Regions from separate parts of the Homo sapiens genome. Here region 2 is linked to region 1. The links are contacts of gene promoters, found by promoter capture Hi-C in human tissues and cell types (Jung and others, 2019). All regions are on one chromosome and are shown on one strand. The core of a region is centred on a gene start or on the middle of the fragment in contact, and the rest is flanking DNA. Distances in the headings are between cores, read along the strand shown.

Region 1 (7,224 bases), core at 1-2,500:
TCCCTGGTTTCAAAAATGTCACATATCCACTTTGCCAGGACTTCCAGGGTAGAGTTCTATAGGGTCATCTTCATCCTACACCGCATCCAGATAAGCACAGGGAGCAAGGCTGAATGCTGGAGGGACTTACCCCAGCCATGGGAGCAGCGCTTGTCGCCCTGGACCTACACACTGGATTGCTTGGCTGCCCGACAGCACCAAGTGCAAACGGGCTACATTCACATTTCGTCTCTGCCAGCTGCAAGATCTTATGCCATCCTCCTCCCCTCCTCTGGCTGTTTGCTCACTTGTGAAATGGGGATGTGACTGGAGGTGAAGAAGGCAAACCTTCTAGACAGAGCCCAATGTAAACTGACCACTCAGAAGTAATGGTTTTAACTCACGCATGATGGAGAGCAATGATTTCCATCGATTAAGCTTTGATTCTTATATACTTCCGACAACAGACTTAAAACCAGGAGAACTTCGACTCCTTGAAGTCGATAACCGAACAATTCTCCCAATAGAAATTCCTATCCGCATATGTTTTCAGATGGGAATTGTACTCAGCATGGCAAGTTGGTGGGAAAGATCTTCTAATTCTCCTCAAATCACACTGCATAGGTAGACACCAAATTGACCTCTAAGTAAACTATAACATACACCAAAAGGAGAGAGCCCTGACGGAGCCTCAGATGTTATAAAGGGAAGGGCAGAGTTCACATTTACTAATCACCTCCATAAAATCATGGGATTTAATCCTCACAAGGTAGATACTAAGAAAATCCTCATTTACAGAAGAAACAGAGGCTGGGGGAATAAAATACCCAACACCATCCCTGGTGGTGCATGGAAAAAATAGAATCACATCTGGCCCGCATTTGCTACTGAGCCAGTCATGAAATCATTCCCAGCACCTATCAAACATGTGTCACTGGAGTGACTGTGTGTGCATGGAGAGCCACCAAGTGCACAGCCCCCACTGAACAAAAACCCCTGCCAGCCTGCAGCAGAAGAGAAAGCACCACACAAGCTCCCTCAAGTGAGTTAACCTTTAAGCAAATGTTCAGTAACATGGGGCCAGAGAGTCAAGGTACATGTTGCTGTTTTCCACTACTACAATCTGAGTAGGTATAAAATCAGAGACTTACATGCTGGAAATTCGAATTCCTTACAGGGCTACTCTCCTTGATGGGATTCTCCAACTTTGGGGACTGAAGAGCATGTGGAGAAGCTGCTGAGGCACTCGGCACTGAGACAGTCACTCTTCTTGAAACTCCAAGCCACACGTTTCCCTCTTCTTGCATTTCCAGCCACATGTGCCAGTTAAACATTAATTCCTGATGGTGACAAAGGTCAAGGAAATCTTGAGAAATAGCTCGCCTCTGGGAATCCTGAGAGCACATTCTGAAGAGACTGTTTCATTCCAAATCCTGGAAGCTTGGATCTTTCTTATGTAATTCTACATACATCCCATCTTTTACTAAGCAGCCCTGATTTCAAGTTTGGAGCCCATTAAGTCATCTGATATGTTCCAGCCCTGCACCAGGTGATGCCTGCATTGCACACAGCCTCCTGCCCCTGAAGGCAGCCCCAAAGTAAGCCTGCACTTCCCGGTGCAGCACTCAGCAATATGGGTAAGATTTCCAGGTTCAGATATCAGCAGAACCCAGGAACTCACCTTCCTTCCCCAAACCCATCAAAATCATAGTTGAGATGCATGAAACAATACTCTGAGTGGAATTTGGACAAATTTATAAAAAAACCCCAAAGTCGATAGAATTTTATGAGAGCACAAAGCAGGGCTGAGAAAGCCACATTGAGAAGTTGAGCAGGCACAGCCTGCAGGGATCTTAGGAGCTGGTCTTTCTGGCAGACCCCCAGCAGCTCCAAGCGTGGGGCTCAGTGGGTGTGAAGAGCAGAGTGAGAGTGAGGCTGGCTGCGGGCAGCTCATTAAAGGACTGGAAACAAGGCAGAGAGGGCTGTCACTAGAGCCATTTGTCACAGGCTAGATGCAGGGAAGAGCTCTCCTTGCTCTATCCTAGGGGACTGGAGCAGGCTGGGGCGGGGCACCTAGGGTTCCTATTGTTAGGACTGGAACTGGAGAGAGAAGCAGAGTGACATTGAGGAGTCTCAAAACCTCCACAGGAGCCATTGGAGGAAAGAGGGAAAAGAGAAAGAATGGCAAGTGAGCCCTCCAATGACGCACACCCAAATGCTCCCGCCTGGGGTCTCACAGGAGCTGAGAACCGAAGAAGTGATTGTCCTTGGTAAGGGGAAGAGTGAGGGAAGGGCTCCAAAGAGGGAACAGCCTCTGCAAAGTTACTGAGGATCAAGCTCGGCATCTCCCAGGCCCTGACAGAAGGCCAACTCCTAAGGACCATTCAAAGTAGGGGAGGGGGAGTCTTGCAAGCCACGTTACGTAATTTGTATCCCCCCAACTGTAATAGAAGGCATTGAAGTGTTTCTAGAAAGCAGTAACCTTAGCTTACTTATGGTTTAAGATCACTCTGGCTCTGGGGTAGAAAATGGATCAGAGGGAGATAAGGGTGAAAGGGTTAGACCCTTTAAGTTGGACCACCAATTCCCACCACATTCCTTGGATTTCTGCACTTTCCTGCAAACCAGGAGTGAATTCAAGTGAATCCATTCTAGGAGATGGGCTGGGGGAGGGAGGGGGGGCTTGAGATGAAGAAGCGTGCTAATATTCCCCATAAGTGCGTGTGTGTGTGTGCATGTTAGGAGGTTGCTGGACAAGGGGAGGAGTCAAGGGGATGGAACGACTACCCAGTGATGAAGCCAGTGGGCAGGGGATGACGGTCATAGACTGAGAGGAAGAAGACTGGGGTGGACCAGTATTGGGTGTGGGGAGGTGAAGGACACCAAGGATTCAGTTTGGGAATTAAATTTCAGATATCCACAAATCGTGTGATTTGAGATGTCCAGTACAGCTCAGAAAAAGAGGCCCAGACAGGAAATAAAGTTATGGGTTGAAAGTGTTTAGATGATATTTGAAGCAATAGGACTGGAAAAAAAACATCCATAGAGAAGAGAGACCTCAGTTTTGAAATCCTCAAAAAAGTGAACTAGTAGTGTCCAACTACTGAGCAACAGTTATCTCTCAATAGAGAAATCTACATAGGAATCAGCATCCGTTCCCAGAAGGGACTCTTTTTACATTTCCTTTCTTCTTGCAGGTGTGGGATTTATGGGGAATAGGGGTGAGGCTTCGAGGACCAAAGAAAGAAATCTAGGGCAGGATTTCCCAACCATGGCACTTTATCAGTCAGGTTTCTCCAGAAAACTGGAAATAATAGGATATGGATATAGGAATATAAGAAGAGATTTATTGTAGAAATTGGCTCATGTGATTATGGAGGCTGGGAAGTCCCACAGTCTTCCATCTACAGGCCGGAGAACTAGATAAGCTGGTGGTGTAATTCATCCTGAGTTTGAAGGCCCAAGAGCAGGAGAAGATGGATATCCCAGCTCAAGAAGAGAAAGAATTTGCCCTTCATCCACCTTTTTGTTCTATTCTGGCACTCAACAAACTGGATGTTACCAGCCCACACTGGTGAGGATGGATCTTGTTTACTTTCTGGAGATTCCAATGCCAATCTCTTCCAGAAACACCCTCATGAACACAACCAGAAATCCTGCTTTACTGGCCCTCTGGGCATCTCTTAGCCCACTTCAGTCGACACATAACATTAACCATCCCAGCACTATTACATTAAGGGTGTATAATTCTCTGTGATGGGAGCTGTCCTGTGCATTATAGAATGTTTAGCAGCATCCGGCTTTTACTCATTAGGTGCCAGTAGTCCCCAGTTGTGACAACCAAGAATGTCTCCAGGCATTGCATGTTTCCTGGTGGCAAAATTGCCCCTGGTTGAGAAAGGCTGATCTCGTGTGACCTTGTAATGCCCCAGGGCAGGGGAAGGTAGCATGGGTTGCAGCCAAGGCTGTTCCTGGAAGAGGGTGAGTCTGCTCTTCCACAGGAGCAGCAACGGCCATCTCTCATGATGCCAGAGTGGCCTGCAGTCAGTCGCAACAGTGTGCATGTTGCAGGAGGGAGACTGCAGGTGCAGACGTGACTGTGAAAGAGATTCACAGTGCACCTGAGTGTGGCTCCTGGGAGCAGAAGAGACGGGGCTTCCTGCTGAGACCACTGTGTGCCAGAGCAAAGTGGGCACTGGGGGCTTTGCTGAGGCCATGGGTGAAGAGAGAGGAGCTCTACTGCTATGCCCACACTCTGGCCAAGCCCACAGACAGGAGTGTCAGGGGAACTGAGTTTTCCTGGAAAAGCCAATTTGTTTAGGAGCTGGTGAGAATATCAATTCTGTTTTCTTTTCTTCCAGCGTAGAAGTTTTTTATTTTAATGAAGTCCAATTCATCAGTCCTTTTCCTCCATAGATTGTATTTAATGGAGGAAACTGGTGATTTATCTAAAAGGTCATCATCAAACTAAACTAGATTTTCTCTTGTGTCATCCTCTAGGAGTTTTATAGTTTTGCATGTTACCTTTAAGTCTATGAACCATTTTGAGTAAAGGTCTAGATCTAGATTCTTTTTTTTTTTTTGCATGTGGACGTCCATTTATTCCACAACCATTTGTCAAAGAGCCTATCCTTTCTTCATTGTATTGCCTTCACTCCTTTGTCAAAGACCATTTCACCATATTTGTGTGGGTCTATTTCTGAGCTCTCTATTCTGTTCCATTCATCTGTCTATTCTTTTACCAATAGCACTTTCTTAACTACTGTAGCTTTGTAGTAAGTCTTTTATTCATTTACTTATTAATTTACTTACTTATTTGAGACACAGTCTCGCTCTGTTGCCCAGGCTGGAGTGCAGTGGCGCTATCTCGGTGCACTGCAACCTCCACTTCCTAGGTTCAAGCAATTTTTGTGCCTCAGCCTCCCGAGTAGCTGAGATTACAGGCATGTACCACCACGCCTGGCTAATTTTTGTATTTTTAGTAGAGATGGGGTTTCACCATGTTGCCAGGCTGGTCTTGAACTCCTTACCTCAAATGATCCACCTACCTCGGCCTCCCGAAGTGCTGGGATTACAGGCGTGAGCCACTGCGCCTGGCTGTAGTAAGTCTTTAAGTTGGGCAGTGTCAGTCCTCCAAGTTTGTTTTTCTCTCAAAAGTCTCAAATCATTGGCCTCAGACTATTGGTGGGTCATGGAATGGGTTTTGCAGGTCTCATGACCAGCATTTTAAAAAATGCAATAGAACAGAATAAAATATAAAACAGGAGACATTGCACCTAATGATGAAAATATTGCTTTCTGAACCTTTCAATGATGTACAGGAATATGTGTACTGGGTCATAATATAGAATGCATTTCTTACTGTAGGTTGTGATCAGACTGCAAAGGCCTCTATCAAGAGATGATCTCATTCTATAAAAATAAAGTGGGTCGAGATTTGTGAAATCTGAAAGTGAGGATTAATCAATGACTACAAAAAGCTAGACAAGGCAACTCATGGACAACTAGCTATGCCTATGTTTTCTATGTAATTTTAAAAATTACATTGAAATGTTCCATAGTCATGTATAGTTTTTCTTCTGTGAATTTCCTGCTTCCGTTTCTCATATGCCTTCTAGCCAGGTAGTGAAAAAGACTCAGCTTTTCAGGGGGACAGCCTAGTGCAATTTGGAATTAGGTTTCTCTGTTTAATTGACTTGTCTTTAGTGTGCCAGACCAGTCAAAGAATCCTGCATCAAAATCGAGAGAATGAACAAGCCTTCATCACCATAGCACATTTATATAAAAAGAAAGGGAAAGATGTTGTGGGAAGTCAGGGACCCCGAACGGAGGGACCTGCTGAAGCCGTGACAGAAGAACATAAATTGGGAAGATTTCATGGACATTTATCACCTCCCCAATCACTACTCTTATAATTTCCTATGCCTATCTTCACTTTAATCTCTTAACCCTGTCATCTTTGTAAGCTGAGGATATATGTTGCCTCCGGACCCTGTGATGATTGCATTAACTGCACACACTGATCGTAAAGCATGTGTGTTTGAACAATATGAAATCTGGGCACCTTGAAAAAAGAACAGGATAACAGCAATGTTCGGGAACAAGGGAGATAACCATTAGGTCTGACTGCCTGGGAGCCAGGCAGGACGGAGCCATATTTCTCTTATTACCGAAAATGGGTAAGAGAAATATCACTGAATTCTTTCCCTGGTAAGGAATATTGATAATTAACAGCCCTGGGAAAAGAATGCATTCCCAGGGGGGCCTCTAAAATGGCTGCTCTGGGGGGGTTGTCTGCTTTATGCAGTTGCAGATAAGGGATGAAACATGCCCTGGCCTCCTGCAGTGCCCCTAGGCTTGCTAGGATTAGGAAATTCCAGCCTGGCGAATTCTAGTCAGACCAGTTCTCTGCTCTTGAACCCTGTTAAGATGTTTATCAATGACAATGCATGCACAGTGGGACATGGAACTTCACTAGTAATTCTAGTTTCTCCCTGACCTTGTGATCTCGCCTTGACCTTCTGCCTTGTGATCTTTTATTGCCCTATGAAGCATGTGATTTTTGTGACCCACACCCTATTCGTACACTCCCTCTCCTTTGAAAATTGCTAATAAAAACTTGCTGGTTTTACGGCTCAGGGGGCATCATGGAACCTGCCGACATGTGATGTCGCTTCCGGACACCCAGCTTTAAAATGTCTCTCTTTTTTTTTTATTATACTTTAAGTTTTAGGGTACCCATGCACAACGTGCAGGTTAGTTACATATGTATACATGTGCCATGTTGGTTTGCTGCACCCAGTAACTCGTCATTTAACATTAGGTGTATCTCCAAATGCTATCCCTCCCCACTCTCCCCACCCCACAACAGGCCCCGGTGTGTGATGTTCACCTTCCTGTGTCCATGTGTTCTCATTTTTCAATTCCCACCTGTGAGTGAGAACATGCGGTGTTTGGTTTTTTGTCCTTGAGATAGTTTGCTGAGAATGATGGTTTCCAGCTTCATCCATGTCCCTACAAAGGACATTAACTCATCATTTTTTATGGCTGCATAATATTCCATGGTGTATATGAGCCACATTTTCTTAATCCAGTCTATCATTGTTGGACATTTGGGTTGGTTCCAAGTCTTTGCTATTGTGAATAGTGATGCAATAAACATACATGTGCATGTGTCTTTATAGCAGCATGATTTATAATCCTTTGGGTATATACCCAGTAATGGGATTGCTGGGTCAAACGGTA
Region 2 (7,224 bases), core at 2,421-4,920, 110 kb after region 1:
TTCCTCTGCAGCGTGGACCATGCTCCGTGACCTCTGGTACCCAGCAGCCTGCTCCATGGCCACTTCCCACCTGATGTGGTGAGCCCAGTTACCGCCCCGCTGTGCCACGGTTTCCTCAGCTGGGAAGCGAGGGTAACCCACACTGCCTCCCTCCGAGGGCACTGATAACAAGGAGGAGCTCATCAGCATCTGCACACAGTAAGCACTCAGCAAATGGCCTCACTTCACAAAATAATCTTTGGTGATTCCAGATTGATCTCCACATTTTTTTTTAATCCACCTGAAAGTAAGAAACAAAACTACTTATCTGAGAGGACACCAGAGAGAAGACATTGGGCCCAAGGAACAGCACCTGTGACCCTGTAGGGAGAGGGCTTTGCTGTCCCACAGAGCAAGCCTGCCCCTCCATCCCAGGGACTTAGCGCAGGTAGTCCCGGGGCACATATGGGCGAGTTCAGCCAGAACTCGAGGTTCAAGGGTCCTGGGCAACTACTCCAGCAGGGAGGCAGGCCTTCTGGCTTTCCAGCCCACCCTCGGGCACCTTCGCCATGCAACTGCACCTCCATATTCCCAGGCACTCCCCAAGGCTACTGTGATGCTCCCAAGAGATGCTCCCAAGAGAAAAACAGCTCTCCCACCAGACTTAACTCCTCAGGAGCTAAGTACAAGGGGTCACGCTTCAAAGAGCAAAGTTGAACAAACCCTGGGACAGGCATCATTCAGCATCAATGAATATGACAAAAAGTGAGAAGTCGGAGGGGAAGCCGGGGTGGGAAGCTGGGGAGGCAGCTGACCACGGGCGCCAGGGCCGCTGCACCCTCTCCCCTCCGTAAGAAACAGCTGCCACCTGGGGCAAGGTGATTATCTGGGCTGCGGAAGACCCAAGATGTCAGACCACAAAGAAAACTCTCAGAAGTTTCTAGAAGCAAGAAGAGCCCAGGAAATGAACAGAGCTCCCCGGAAGATGGGGTGCTGAGACAGAAGGCACCAGAACCCCATCCTGACAGAGGCCAGTGAGGGCAAGGGGCAGTCCCAGCAGAGATGGCTGTACATCCTCCGCAAAGGCCCAGAGAGGCACGCAGGGTCCCACGGAGCCCCACGCCATCCCGACTGCGACAGGGCAGACAGGCGGATCCTTGAGGGCTGCCCCTGGCTCTCAGCTTGATTCTACAAAGATCTTCATTCAGAATGTCTAAGGTACTCTCAGCACCTTCACCTTCGACATGACCATTCTCTAGACACCCTCCTCCCAGGCACTCGAGACAAAATCCAAGTCACCCTCCACACACTCTCTGTCTCCTCACAGCCCTGGCAAAATTCAAGTGCTGGCAAAACGCAGCTGCTCCTCCTCAGCAACGTGCTCAAATCCCCCCTCCTTCTTCATCCTCAGGCAGCGCACAATCATCTCCCATCCGGGGGCTCCTGAGACCACTTCCAAACCGGCCATGCTCTGCCAACCCTGCTGCCCTCTACCACTGCCCCCACGACCCCTGGCAACCAGAATGCTGGTGTCAAAACCCAAACCCAGCCCCTTCACACGCCTGTCCAGAACTCTTTCTCACGTGGCTCCTGAAAAAGGCACACAAAGTGCTTCAGCACCGGCCCCCATCTGCATCATCTCTTCTGCTCACAAAACCTCTGCCTCCATCTATCTGAGCTCCTATCACCCTTTGACATCCGTTCAGAAATCCTACCTCCCAGGAACCTCCCTCAACGTCCCCAGCACGTTCCTCCCTCCAGCCTCCCTGTTTCCACAGAGATGTGCCTACCCCTGAATTAGCAGAGGAATGTGGCAAAATGCAACTCTGAGGGAGGTCTGGGGTTGCACGACAAGCTCCAGGGGGTGCTGTAGCTGCTAGCCTCCCGTCCCTACTCTGGGTAGTGAGGACTTGGGGCATGCAATCAGCTCCATGGCTGTTCTTCCAATCTTTCCAGAGATTTTTCCTCTGGTGGTTTTCCTGCATATCCCTCTACCTAGCACAGTGCCTTGCACATAGCAGGCACTCAATAAAAGGTACTACTGGAATTGAACTGGCTACAAAGTTCAACCCAAGGGCGGCACACTGCACACACTCAGTGTATCCGTTATCCCATCAAAGCAATGTATCTGCCTCTTGACTTTGCAAGACCAACACTATTCCCCCCAACACCATTTAACTCACAGAGAGCAGTGTCCCTGCCGACAGCTCTCATCCTTGGAGAAGGCTCTGCCCATAAGGCCTGGACCTACCTGACAGCGAGGATGTGCACAGGCTGGGAGCGCTGCACCCTCTGCCTCGGGGACACCTGTGGCTGGATGGACCGAGGAGGGCCTGAAGCCCGAGGCTGGCTGCGGGCATGCTGGCCATTCTGCAGGAGGGGCACCGTGTCTGACTGCATGCTGCAGGCCGAGTACAGGCTCTCCAGGGATGCATTCATATCGTTCACCAGGGCTTCCAGGTCCACATCATCCTCTGCACAGAAAAAGGCAAGAGCAAAAAAGAAACTTTAACAATGGAGAGCAATCAAACCCAAATGTACATCTTGGTGATCAGGTTCCAAACCTCAATCCTATTTTTCAAATATTATGGAAGGGGTAGAGGGGAAACACCAAGACAAGTATGACTGTATGGAAGCATGCATATTACATGTATTCATCATGACTGACATTCCAGAGACAATTCAATCATTAGAGCTGGGCTGCATTTCTACCTGTCTCCAGGGAGAAGCCATTCAGAGCATCTGCTCAGCTCCCTTCAGCACCCCCTTCTCTCCTCCCCACCCCCTCCGGTAGGCCGCACACAGCCACAGCTGCATAGCACGACCCCACTGGCCTGGACTCAGCTGACTGAATCACAGGTGTCTCCCAGGATCAGGACTCTCCCTTCCCTGGGATTCCAGAAGTGAAACAAGAGACAGAAACAGAGCAGCACCCAACACTGACACTGGTTCCAGCCCAGAAAGGTTAAGTAGGGGCTGACACTGTGGCAGGGGTTTGTGTGTGGCTGCTACTACAACACATGCCTGAGGGCTTCGGGTGCCCACCCATCCTCTCGATTGGCCAGAGTGCAGAAGGAAGCCCATCTTCACAGAGGAAGGCATGGGGCAGATGCAGAGAGAGAAGCCACAATGGCACAGAGAGTAAGTGAGAGAGAGAGCGGCGGAAAACGCACTGTAGAAAGGGAGGAATGAGCACGCAGAGACAGTGATGGTTGGTTTTATGTGCCAACTTGGCTGGGCCATGGTGCCAGGTTTTAGCTAAACACTAGACTAGATGCTGTGAAAGTATTTTTTAGATGTAATTAACATTTAAACCACAGACTTTGAGTAAAGCAGATTGTTCTCTCTCATGTGAGAGTGCCTCAGCCCATCACCTGAAGACCTGAATAGAAGAAAAAGACCGGCCTCCAAGGGGAAAGATGGAATTCTGCCTCCAGACCTGAGCTGCAACCCTTCCCTGGATGTCCAGCCTGCCAGCCTGCCCTGCAGATTTTGGACTTGCTAGCCTCCACAGTGTCATGAGCCAATTCCTAAAACACATGTGTCTCTCTCTGTATACAGCCTATTTAATGGGTCTGTTTCTCCAGAGAAACAGAGACCTAGGGCTACAACCCAGCACATGGAGATGGGGAGGGGTTGGGGTGGGACGGGGAAAGGGAGCCAGGAGCTAGGGCTGTGCAGCTTCCGGTGCTTCCTAAGGCCTGGCTGCACTCCTGCTCAGGGAAGATTGGTAAAACATTCTTGCATCCATACAATAATTTTGTTGTTGTTGTGCTTAAGCTAATTTGAGTGAGTTTTGTACGTGTAACCCAATACATTCTAATAATATTGACTCCTTTCTTCTGCATTTTTAGATTTTTCGCTTTTTGACATCATGGCAAATAATGATGGAAGCTCACATAATTCGTCCTCTCTTCTGCTCCCAGAATAGCTGCAAGTTACACCCACTTAACACACAGGGTCACAGACAGCAAGACCCTCTTCCTACCAAAGGCTACATTGGTAGGAAGGAAAGCAGAGACCGGCACTTGCAAACTTGCTCACCCTGCCCTGCTCCTAGTAGCTCTGGGCCCAGGGCCCAGGACGTGGGCTTCCTATTTCTTAAGAGTCCTCAACTCTAACATGAGCTTAGCAATAGTGTCCACCCCACCGGGGGGGGGGGGGGGTTGTAAGGACTAGGTTAGTTATTATCTGCTTTATAACACAGCTTGGCACACAGTAAACAGGAAGATGTTATTTATTAGCCCTATTTCATCTATTTCTTACAAAATAACAAAAAGTGATCGTTATTAACCTGGCTTAACAGCTGAGGAAATAGGCCTGGAAGAATTAAATCACCTGCCCAAGGTCACATAAGCGGTATTGAAAATAAGCTTTGCATCCCTCATTCTCTCCTACCAGGTGTGTGCTCCTCACAGAAGCTTCAGAGGGGCACTCTGCCCTCTGGTTAGGAAGGCCTTTGTTTTAAAGGGCTCCCCTCATCTCTCAAGGCTAAAGGGCATAACAAGACAAGACATAAGGAAACAAAACAACAACAATGAGGGAGGGAAGTCCTGGGCAACCACGGTAGTGCAGAGGGGGTATGGAGTGGGCAGGGTCACCCCCGGGGGTAGTGCTTGGGCTTCTGGAGTGGGTGGGACAGTAGGAGCAGGGTTTAGCCAGATCACGCTCAAGATCCTGGTGAAGACAGACAGATAGAAGGGAGGGGTGAGGACAGAAGGGAGGCTGCTGAAATGGCAGCGATGAGATCACTGAGGCCTGGCCAGCACAGCCCTTGCTGGAAGAACAGAGGCCACATTCAAACCAGGGCCAGGGGAGAGGGCAGGGGCTGGGGAGCATCAGGCTGGAAGAGGAAGGTTGCCTTAGAAAAACAGGGGTCAGATGGATCCGAAGATGCGGACTGGGTGAAATCAGCAGCTGAGACGCAGCAAGCAGGGCCCTGTGTGCCCAGGATCTGTGTGGAAGGAGGGAAGAAGAGAGATGTTGCCATGGTTCAGGTTGTGAGTGGTCAAATATTAATCCTGGCCAGATATTAAAAGGACAAAGTGCTGAATCAATAATTAATAATTACTGCATAATCAATAATTAATCACAAGGAAGAACACTCAGAGTCAGCAGGCGAACTCTTGCTCATAGCTGGGGTGAGGTGGGGTGGGGAAGAGTTGGTTGGCAAAAAATCAGGACCCCTGGAGGGGCAGGCATGTACCTGCCTGAGCTACCCGAGGCCCAGAAGGCTTGTGGCCTCAGGGAGAGGAGAGCCTCACTGCCAACTGCTGGAGCGAAAATTGCAGTCCAGAGAACTCTGCCTGCCAAAGACAAGACCTCAGTTCTGTATTTATTGAGACTGCTGCATCCATCTTGAGGAAAAGTTATAGTGGAGACCACGAATCTGGGGCTTCAGGAAAGTTCTAGAACGTATGCATCACGCACCCACTCATCTCCTACACTCCTATTTAGCTGACAGGGAATAGCTGCTTAATTGAAGCTCTGCAAAACAATTAGCACGAGCGCCACTCTTAACTTACCGTATTAACAGCTCAATATTTCTATCTCAGTGGGCCATCTAAAAGTCAATACTGGCCAAAACACAAAGTTCACTGTTAAGTATAGTCAGTCTTGGGTGATGCAGGTTGGTCTCAATGCCACACACGTGCACACGTGCGAACATGTCCACACACATGCACACACTTGCACACACATACACGTGTGCTGTGGGGCCACTCTGCCAATTCAATGCCAGGCTTTTAATCCTGCTTTGGAAATAAAAACAGTGGTACAGTTCCTACTCTGAGACTGTTCTCTTCTAGGAAAATAACATGTTTTCATTCCCTCTGGGGAATTTTCATGTGCAGTTATTTCTCTCTATGCATTCCTAACAGCCCCTTGGCTGTGCTCCCCAGGCAAGCAGCCCCCGGGGTCTCCTGTCCTTTTCCTGCTAAGCCTTCTGTCAGTCAACCAGATCATTCCTGGGTCATAGCTCTGCAATTAGGTCAAATGCAAAGTAATTCTGTCATTATTCAAAGTAAATATAAGGTAACAGATGCCAAAATATAAACACAACACATATCCTCAAAATGCTTTTACTCTCCTCTGAGGTGGATTATTTGTACAACTATTTTCTACTTTAATACATTCAATCATGAATATTTTCAACAAAGCCAGGTCAATCTGGTAACTCAATAGGTTATAATCTTCATAAACTGAATCCAACCACTCTATCTGGATGTTTCAAACCTTCATACTTTCCAGAGCCATTACAGCAAAAATAAAACTTTTTAGAAATTTTAAATGCCATACTTTAGAAACAACTGTAAAATGTCCTGTGGGGTTCATTAGCATTTTATCTGTTTAGATAATAAAATCAATTATGGTTCTCTGACTTGTAAGCTTCACTAAATTCTAACGAAGAGCGACAGTTAAATCTTCCAAACAGGGGTTTTAAAGGTTTGATTCAAAAGAAGACAATTTTTCATATTCTACACCATTTTTTTTTTAATTACTACATTAAGATACGACTGAAATCACACTGAGTTCTTACAAGCATCCCTATGGCGTTTATTCTGTCAGCTGGTCTACCTCAGTAAGGACTCTGTGTGCCACCTCTGTGGGTGTGGTCAACTGCAAAATTCTTGTCTGGTCCCATGAATCCAAGTGGATCAATAATCACCCATTTGTGAAAGGCCTTCTGCCACGTAACAGAAGTGGGAGAAACAAGTAAACAAATGCTTCTCGCAGTGAATATTCAGATTGTCTATTTAATGTTAACTTGACGCCAAAATATTTTCCATGGGGCTGCCCCACTGGGAGGAATAGTGAAAGGTGAAGAAAAAAATAATTTTATATATAAAATTTCACTTCAGACGGATTTATAAGAATGTATTTTCTGCACAAATATAGGTCAAACAACATGGCTGTCAATCATGTTATTAATAGTTATTTTCCTTCTTTAAATAACCCAGTCCAAAACTGGGTATTAACTTTGCCCCAAATATTTGAGTAGCTTGTCTGATCTCAAATTCACATCTCATCTAGTTTCACTGTCATTAGCAAACTGAGGCTGGCTTAGTTTTAAAATAGATATAAACTCAGCGAAACACATTTGCATCGGGCTTATAAATCATCACGAGTAAATGTCTTCCATGCAGCAGGCTAGGTGTGCTGACTAGGAAAAGGCAAAGAGGACAGAGAAACTCCGGGGACAGAGGATTTAACTTCTAGCACCATCTCACCACCTTCACCAATACA

Evidence for each region. Contacts are between HindIII fragments. The study calls those that stand out against the background at their distance.
Region 2: a fragment that was not itself captured here is called in contact with the fragment with the promoter of DDC in region 1 in 2 of the 25 tissues and cell types used here (liver and thymus).

What each region holds. Positions count from the first base shown.
Region 1 is chr7:50,564,155-50,571,378 of GRCh38, forward strand. It overlaps DDC (dopa decarboxylase), which reads right to left and starts at 1,251. Exons shown (of 15, transcript NM_001082971.2): 1 at 1,131-1,251. RefSeq lists an enhancer at 6,114-6,639. The HindIII fragment of the contact is 6,956 bases long and covers 1-5,234 here.
Region 2 is chr7:50,672,206-50,679,429 of GRCh38, forward strand. It overlaps GRB10 (growth factor receptor bound protein 10), which reads right to left. Exons shown (of 19, transcript NM_001350814.2): 6 at 2,231-2,453. Among named protein-coding and RNA genes, the nearest start is that of GRB10, 110 kb to the right of the region's middle. The HindIII fragment of the contact is 3,425 bases long and covers 1,959-5,383 here.